Regions from separate parts of the Homo sapiens genome. Here region 2 is linked to region 1. Evidence: promoter capture Hi-C in 16 types of primary human blood cells and fetal thymus (Javierre and others, 2016). All regions are on one chromosome and are shown on one strand. Each heading gives the region's core, a stretch centred on a gene start or on the middle of the fragment in contact. The rest is flanking DNA. Distances are from core to core; before and after follow the strand shown.

What was found. Contacts are between HindIII fragments. The CHiCAGO score rates a contact against its expected background, and 5 or more counts as called.
Region 2: a fragment that was not itself captured here is called in contact with the fragment with the promoter of IPO8 in region 1 in 3 of 17 cell types (non-activated CD4 T cells, total B cells and activated CD4 T cells); the score reaches 8.7 in non-activated CD4 T cells.

What each region holds. Positions count from the first base shown.
Region 1 is chr12:30,693,914-30,698,172 of GRCh38, forward strand. IPO8 (importin 8) reads right to left here and starts at 1,956. Exons shown (of 25, transcript NM_006390.4): 1 at 1,651-1,956. The coding sequence starts at 1,734. RefSeq lists a silencer at 1,706-1,755 and an enhancer at 1,846-2,345. The HindIII fragment of the contact is 4,530 bases long and covers 1-3,698 here.
Region 2 is chr12:34,026,666-34,030,924 of GRCh38, forward strand. It overlaps ALG10 (ALG10 alpha-1,2-glucosyltransferase), which reads left to right. Exons shown (of 3, transcript NM_032834.4): 3 at 1-1,637. The coding sequence ends at 250. Among named protein-coding and RNA genes, the nearest start is that of ALG10, 6.3 kb to the left of the region's middle. The HindIII fragment of the contact is 2,454 bases long and covers 525-2,978 here.

The DNA.
Region 1 (4,259 bases), core at 706-3,205:
CTGAAATACCATGGGAAAAAAAATAGGATTGGGTCTTAAATGTCTCCTAGTTCTGCAGGCTTTCTCATATACTTTTTCCACTTCTATAACATCAACTGTACTTATATACTGATGAATCAGAAAGAAATGAAGGTTAGGTGAAGGGCAGGGAAGTGTAACCTGATATCAAAGGAACACCTGGCCTCATTGTGAGAAGGGGGTCATAAACAGGCCAACTCCCCTGTTCATATTAGTAGACTGCAAATTCAGCTCCTGCTTTGTTCTTCCTAACTAACCCCTGGATTACTATTCTTCCAGCCAGCCAACATACAGTACTTTTACTCTGCAAAGCCTGGGACAGGTACTGACTTTAACTTCCCCCTATTCTAAGTGACAGTCCATTTCTTTTTCAGGCACCAGTGCATTATCTTTGGGCATTAGTTCAACCCAACCTCCTCTCCATTGGCAGTGTCTTCACTCTCCCTTTTATCTCTGGGGAATCCTGCATTTATACCTACTCCAAACTCCACCTAGGTTTCCTATTAAAATAATCCCTTTCAAAGATTCCCAACACGCAGCTTTTTAAAGTCAATTCCAACAGAAACATTTACTTAGGACAGTCACACTTCAGTCACACTTCGGGAGGCACAGAATCACCTGGGGGAGCTAGTTAAAATACAACTGGTCCCACCCCCACAGTTTCTGATTCGTTAAGTCTGGACTGAAGCCCCGTAATTTGCATAATTTGTAAGTTCTCAGGTGATGCTGAAGCTCCAGGTCCTGGGCAACGCTTTGAGAACAGCTGATTTTGGAATATTTACATTTTACAAGTCATCACAACCTAAAACAGCTGTTGCTCCATCCCAGTGGTAGCTCTTAATCCCTACTTTTTAGTAAGAGGTCTGTGATTCTTAAGTACCGGTAGGGAAGAAGAAATAAGCTGGAGTTTGGGATCATTAAAATTTTGAAGTGTGGGGGTAACGCTGGAAAGACGTCAAGGCTAATTAGGAAGAACAGGAGACGGAGAAAAGAAAGAAGTCTTACACATTTTAGCATTCATAAGAAATTTCTCCAACACATCTTACTTTGATGTGTCTTAGATAAAGCAGTATCACCATGAAAACTGCCTATTCTTCCCAGAGCACTCTCCCAACAGCACTGCCCAGCGCTCCGCAAAACTCGGCCAATCGGTGTCAAAACAGTCCTGCCAACCCGACAGGAGGAGGCGGTGGGCAGCGTGCTCCACAGCAACACCTAAAAAGGGCTGGGTTTGGAAAAAAGCTGAACTCAGATTTGAACTGTAAGTAAAATTCCCACCTGCTCCCCAAGTCCGCGCACTTAAGGAAAATAAATCACACCCTGAAAACACTAGCACAGGTTGCAAAAACTGCTTCTTGCGGACCAAGTAGGCAGAACAAACTGCCCTGGAGAAGGGAGACGACACGAAAAGGTGCAAAGGTGGCCAACAGGTGCGCGAGCTGTTCGGCAAAGATCCTGGGAGCCCTGCTCCACTGGACCGGGGGGCAGCGGGGTCGGAGAGCGGGACCAGCCGTGAGGCGTCAGCCCCAGCCCGGTGGGGGTGAGGACGAGGGGCGCCGGGGAGAGGGAGCCCGGCCAGCCGGCAGGGGCGCCCCTTCGGCGGAAGAGGGTCGCCGAAGACCCTCTCCTCACCTGGTTGAGCTCGTTCTCGGCTGCAATCCGCAACTTCGGGTCGATGGTGCCCTTCAGCGCCTGGATGATCCGGTTGAGGTCCATCTCCCCGGGTGGGGGCTCCGCGGCCCCCGGAACAGTAGGCCGGACTGCAGCTTTAGTTTTCTTTTGACCCTCTCAGCCTCCTCTTCCGCGACCCCTGGATTACCTCACACCCCACCCCCCGCCACCGTCGCCACCTGCGGCCACTTGCTGCGCCACTCTGACTCCGCGCCCCCTGTCCTCCCTTTTTCCCCCCCACAACTCGCTCTCCATTCACCGTTTTACGACAGCCGGTGGGAGGCGGGAGAAGGAAGAAGAGGAAGCAGAGCTTCCTTTACGGCGGCCTCTTCCCCCGGGCGTGATGCTATGACCGCCTCCCGTCGGCGGCCGCCATGCTGCTGTACGGAAAACGGCCTAGGCTTCTTTCCCGGAAAGGAACCCGCGCTCCCGAACTCAGGCAGGCGGCCGCTATGCTTCCGTACGGTAAACAGCCTCCCGCCTCTTCCCAGGTGAGGAAACTTGAGCTGGCCGGGAGTCTGCTTACAGCTGCTTCCAAATTAAGCATATCTGGATGGTGTGACACTTTTTGTTAGTCCGAGAACTGTATGGGCATCGCAACTGGGCCTGTTCCAAGATAGACTTGTTGGGACCTTCAAATCATGTACCTTACAGGAGGACAGGGTTCCTCCGTGTGTGGGAGTCATCGTTCATTCATTCATTCGCTTTCACTGAACATTTGTTAAACATATATTTTTGAACCAGAGTACTAGGATTTTTAGGTACCACATTATAACAAGATGAATTCCATGCAAGTTAATGTGAAGGAATTCACAACCTGATAGATGAGACAAATATAAACAAAAAAAATTTACAGTGTAGAAATGATAGGGGAGTGCTGGGAAGGGAAGAGCGTGGTCCCTTTAAATGATAGGGATGGGCGAAGTGAAGTGCTGGGTAGAGGAGTGTGTGGTCCCTTGCTAGGGCTCCACGCCCACCGACCTAGGTGAGGACTGACACTCCTGCCTTCCAGCCCAAATGTTGCATTTCCCAAGACCACCCTGGCCTGCCACTCCCCCATACTGTGCCTATGAAAACCCCAGACCCTAGCAGGCAGGTACACAGGCAGCCAGACGTCCAGAGGAGCATAAGGGTGGAAGAAGAGGAGCTCGCTGGCACATCCGCAGGCCATTCACGGGCAGAACGATGCGGAGGTTGGCCTGGGCAGTCGGAAAAGAGCCCGGGCCGCCAAGCGGCCTAACTCCAGAGGAAAACCATTTCCCTTCTGGGTCCCTCATCTGCTGAGGGCTACTTCCACTCAATAAAACTTTGCACTCATTCTCCAAGCCCACGTGTGATCCAATTCTTCTGGTACACCAAGGCAAGAACCCAGGATACAGAAAGCTCGCTGTCTGTGCGACAAGGTAGAGGGTCTAATTGAGCTGGTTAACACAAGCCCCCTAAAGGCAAACTGAAAGAGCATCCTGTAACACACACCCACTGGGGCTTCAGGAGCTGTAAACATTCACCCCCAGACTCTGTCAAGGGGTCGGAGCCCCACAGCCTGCCGGTCTGTATGCTTCTCTAGAGGTCTGAGCAGCGGGGCACTGAAGAAGCGAGCCACACCCCCAATGCACGCCCTGTGAGGGGGACAAGGGAACCTCTCCCATTTCAGAAAGACAAAGGTCACAGAAACTGAAAACTACATCCCTGAGAGTTTTATGAAAAATTTTCAGACCTTCTCAAAAATGTAGTGAAAGGTAAGCAGAAAAGTTATACTGTTTCTATCCACTGTGGCCATATCTGGCGCCACAATTTCAATGGCATGAAAATATCAAGGAGCTGGTTCTTCCTGAGGTTAACCCAGAAGAGAGGGTTCTAATTACATTTAATAAAGATGATGATGTGGGCAAAACACAGCTGAGGGGCTGTGATCTTTTCAGGAGCAGATAATTAAGATAGATTGGGTCAATTAACTGAGTTCAATTGAGAGAGTAGAAAACATGTGGCTGAAAACTTGGTGGCTTGAAAGCTTCCCCCTCAGTTGGATGCAAAAGTGCTTCACAGTGAATTTAACATGTCTAATTGCTTCCAGTATTGCCCCTCTTTAATCCATTATTCACACTATCATCAGAAGAAAGTTTCTGAAAAGTTAATATTACTATGTCTCTTCCTTGATTTCTCATCAATTTCAAAATAAAATATAAACTTAGCACTCCAGAGTCTTATGAACACTATTTCACTAAACCACTCTCTTGGACATCATGAATGTCTAAAAAATTTTTTATCTCTGAAAATCTTAACTCCAATATCCTCTTTTATAATTAGAACTAATTCTTCCATTTCTCTCTTCCTCAAAAATTCTAAGCTTGTTTTCCAATTCAATCACTACTTCAGTTCTTAGTCTATCCATTACTCACTACACATCATTCTCTGCTATTAAACCCCCAATTCAGCTTCTTAACTCTAGCCTTGACCCACTGTGCAAACTGATATCAGATGTATTCTTTAATCAGATGCAACCATCCTATTCCTATTCCTTGCCTTTAATCAGCAACATCTTCCATTCCCTCAGTGGCGTTTCAACTCTC
Region 2 (4,259 bases), core at 502-3,001, 3.3 Mb after region 1:
GTCAATTTTTTGGAATTTAATGTTTTTCATATGCTTGTTCACTGTTATAGTTCCTCAGAAACTGCTGGAATTTCGTTACTTCATTTTACCTTATGTCATTTATAGGCTTAACATACCTCTGCCTCCCACATCCAGACTCATTTGTGAACTGAGCTGCTATGCAGTTGTTAATTTCATAACTTTTTTCATCTTTCTGAACAAGACTTTTCAGTGGCCAAATAGTCAGGACATTCAAAGGTTTATGTGGTAATATCAGTGATATTTCGAACTGTGAAAATGGACTTAATAATTAGACCATTTCTACAAAGAACAACTGAATAGGTGGAAAACATGGAATTTCTTTTAGGTGCAGTGGTGGTCTTCAAATTACATTAGTTTTTTTTATATATATTTTAAACATATGTAAGAAATTAAGTGGCAAAGAACTGAGAAAGCTTAAGACCTGCTTCAAAAGCCTGAAAAATGGAAAAATAAAATTGTTTTCAGATATCTCATATCACTCTCATAATGTTGGCCCCTTAAAAAGCTTGGGAATGTTTTGTATGTACAAGTTTATTAAAACTGGGTATGCTTCATATTACTGGAATGAATTTATTCTCTTCAGAGAGAAATATTAGGTTAGTGCAAAAGTAATTGTGGTTTTTGCCATTGAAAGTAATGGCAAAACCACAATTACTTTTTTACCAACCTAATAACAATGTATTAGCAAATATTTACAAATGGTCAGGTGATATTCTTGATTGAAAAGTTGCTTAACATTTCAGTAATATAATTTTAATTCTAAGTCAAAATACAAATGCATAGATAGTAAATGATAAAGTAGAGACTCATATATGCCTGTCTAGACATCAAATTGTTGGTTATTGTTTACAATCTAGAAATGATGAAGCTCTTTCACTAATTCCTAATATGAAATGTATGATGGCCAAAGACAAATTGTATTGATTATAATCCTTTAAAAGGGGGATTTCCTTTCTGAAATACATATTGTATTAGCTTCCCAGGGCTTCCATAACAAATGACGACAAACTTGGGTGCTTACAACAATTTTCCTCACAGTCTGGAGGCCAGAAGTCTAAAATCAAAGTGTCAGCAGAGTTGGTTCCTTCTGGAGGCTCTAAGGAAGAATCCATAAACAGACATTCTATGTCTGTTTCCTAATATCTTGTGGCTGTGTGCAATTCTTGGAGTTCTTTGGCTTCTGGACAAATCTTGTCCAAGTATTGCAGACAGCAATCTTCACTCCAGTCTCTGCCTCTGTGTTCACACGGCCTTTCCCTCTGTCTTCTCTTCATTACCTTTTAAGGACAGTGTCTTTGAATGTAGGGCCCACCCTGATCTAGGGTGATTGTGTCTGGAGACCCTTAATTATGTTTACAAAGACCCATGTTCCAAGTAAGTTTGTATTCACATGATCTGAGTAGACATTGTCTCTTCGTGGGATACTTTTCAGTCCATGACAGTTACTAAAGGACATTTTAGGATAGTCTTCATATGATTGTTAGGAGACTACCTTTTTAGATTTTTTTTATTATATATCAAATTATAGTTGTATATACTTATGAGAAACAAAGTGGCATTATGATTTTTGAATATAATGTGGGATTAAATAAAGCTAATCTATCCATCACCTCAAATATTTGACATATTTTGTGATGAAAACATTTGAAATTTACTCTCAGCAGTATTGAAATGTACAGTGCTTAATTATTAGCTGTATTCACCATGTTGTGTAATAGATCTAAAAAAAGTCAAACATGCTCCTTCTATCTAATTGAGGCTTTGTATCTTTTGATTATCATCTCCCCATTCCCACATCCCCGGCCTCTAGCAACCATCATTCTTCTCTCTACTTCTGTGAGTTTAATTGTTTTAGATTACACAAATAAGTGAGATCATGTGGTATTTGTCTTTCTGTGCTTGGCTTATTTCACTTACCATAATGTCCTCCAGGTTCATCCATATTGTTGCAAATGACACAATTTCTACCTTTTTAAAGGCCAAATAGTATTTTATTGTGTATATATGCCACATTTTCTTTATCCATGCATCCATTGATGGACATTTAGGTTGATTGAATAACTTGATAATTGTGACTTGTCTGCAGTGAACGTGGAGTGCAGACTTCTCTTTGACATACGGATTTCAAGTCTTCTGGATAAATGCCCAGAAGTGGGATTGTTGGATCAGGAGATAATATCTTAGCCGATACCTTTTAAATAACTCTCAGTATCTTTACTGAGAGGTTAAAAAGTAAGTGACTTCTGAGGTAATATAAAGCTAAAGGTGACTAGTGTTTGATTCCATTATCTATTTAAAAAAATGTCAGAATTGAAAGTTAAGAAATCATTTGGTCTGACCTTATTTTGTAGATTAGGGAACAACTGCTGGGGTAGGATTATTTTGTGTTACTTTTTGAATTTTGTGTTTATTATTTTGAGTGTATTTTTTGGGTTGTCATTCCATTATAGGAAAGTATTATTTGGGCATGTTAAATTTGACATGTAAACTTAGAATTATGAATAGAACACTTCTTTTAACATAATTTTATGTTTCCAAACTTTAAAAGTAGCTATAAGTGAACAAATTACTTTCCCCTCAATGTCAAATTTTGTTTCTCTGAGTTTTAAGTAATGATTCTACATTTACAAATATAAAATTGTGTGTAGGTGAAAATCACAAGTATAATTTGAATGATAAATACAGACCGTTTTTTGGTTGTACTCTAGTACTCAGAAAATAGAGTTGCATTAGTTATAACAGTGATTGTAGAAAAACGTGTTTTACCCAGACTTTTTAAAAATTAGACGAGAGAGGACACTCAGAGAAATTATACTTTTGTCATTAATTTACTATAATAGAGAACTAAATCCGAGAAGTCAAAATTGAAAAAAGAATGTATAATTTAGGGAAAATAACTTTTTGTCTGATAATATTAATGCAAGGATTTTGTATTTAGGAATACTTCTGAGAGGAGAAGCTTCCACTCTGATCTAGTCTGGCAAAATTGAGGAAAATATTCTACCCTGTAATTAAAGAAGACTGCTCTTTGGAGGGATCACTGTTCTAGATTTTTTTTTTTTTTTTTTTTTTTTTTTTTGAGGAGAAGTCTCACTCTTGTCCCCCAGGCTGGAGTGCAATGGCTTGATCTCGGCTCACTGAAACCTCCACCTCCCGGGTTCAAGCAATTCTCCTGCCTCAGCCTCCCGAGTAGCTGGGATTATAGGCACCTGCCACCACGCCCGGCTAATTTTTCCTATTTTTAGTAGAGACGGGATTTCACCATGTTGGCTAGGCTGGTCTCGAACTCCTGACCTCAGGTAGTACACCCGTCTCGGCCTCCCAAAGTGCTGGGATTACAGGCGTGAGCCACTGTGCCCAGCTCTTCTAGTTCATTTTTAAGTGTTGAGTCCCTGCTGTTTTAAGAGATGTTTTGGTGAAAATCTACATTCAGAGAGAAACAGATTAATCTTCCACATTTTTAATAAAATACATATAGTACTTGGGATTTTAAGAAAAGAATGCCATGTATTAAAAGGTGCTATTTTCAACTGTTTATTATTTTAAAACAGGAATGCTTATCAATACTTTTGAATTTAAGATAAATGTCTTGGTTAAATTTTCTAGGCAGTTCAAAGATGGCCATTTGCTGGTGAATTTTCCAAAATAGGTAACAGATAAAATGATTATGTAAGAACTTGGCACAACATATCCTTTTGCCTTTAGTTGTTCAAGAAATGATACCAAACTCAAAGTCATTCACTTGAAACAACTGAGAAGACCATTCTTAGGTGTTTAGATCCTTGCTTTTAGAAATATTCTTAGTTATATTTGTGTTTTTAAGAGTTATTGAGTGGATTTTTTTTCATGAATTTTTAAACATTAGACTTAGCTGAATTGATTAAAATAAGGTGATTATGAAAAAAAATGTTGCCCTGCTTGAGGGCATATGGAGCCCTACAGTTACCGTTACTAAAGTCTGTGAGTATGTCTGTTTTGAAAAGTGTCATAAAAAGATCTAGTCCATAAATCGTTATAGGTTCAGTAATACATCATTTTGAACTGATTCTATCTTCTGTGAAATTCTAGAGATATGTTATCTTTAGGTAAATTAGTAAGATTTCAGGTATGCTGTGAATTTTGTTACGTTTATGTTTTCCATTAATGGATAGTCAGAAATCTTTTGAACTGCGTCTGACTATATTTAAATGATTTGGAAAGATAGTATCTCTCAGTTTAAACATAGCATCTCATTTTGG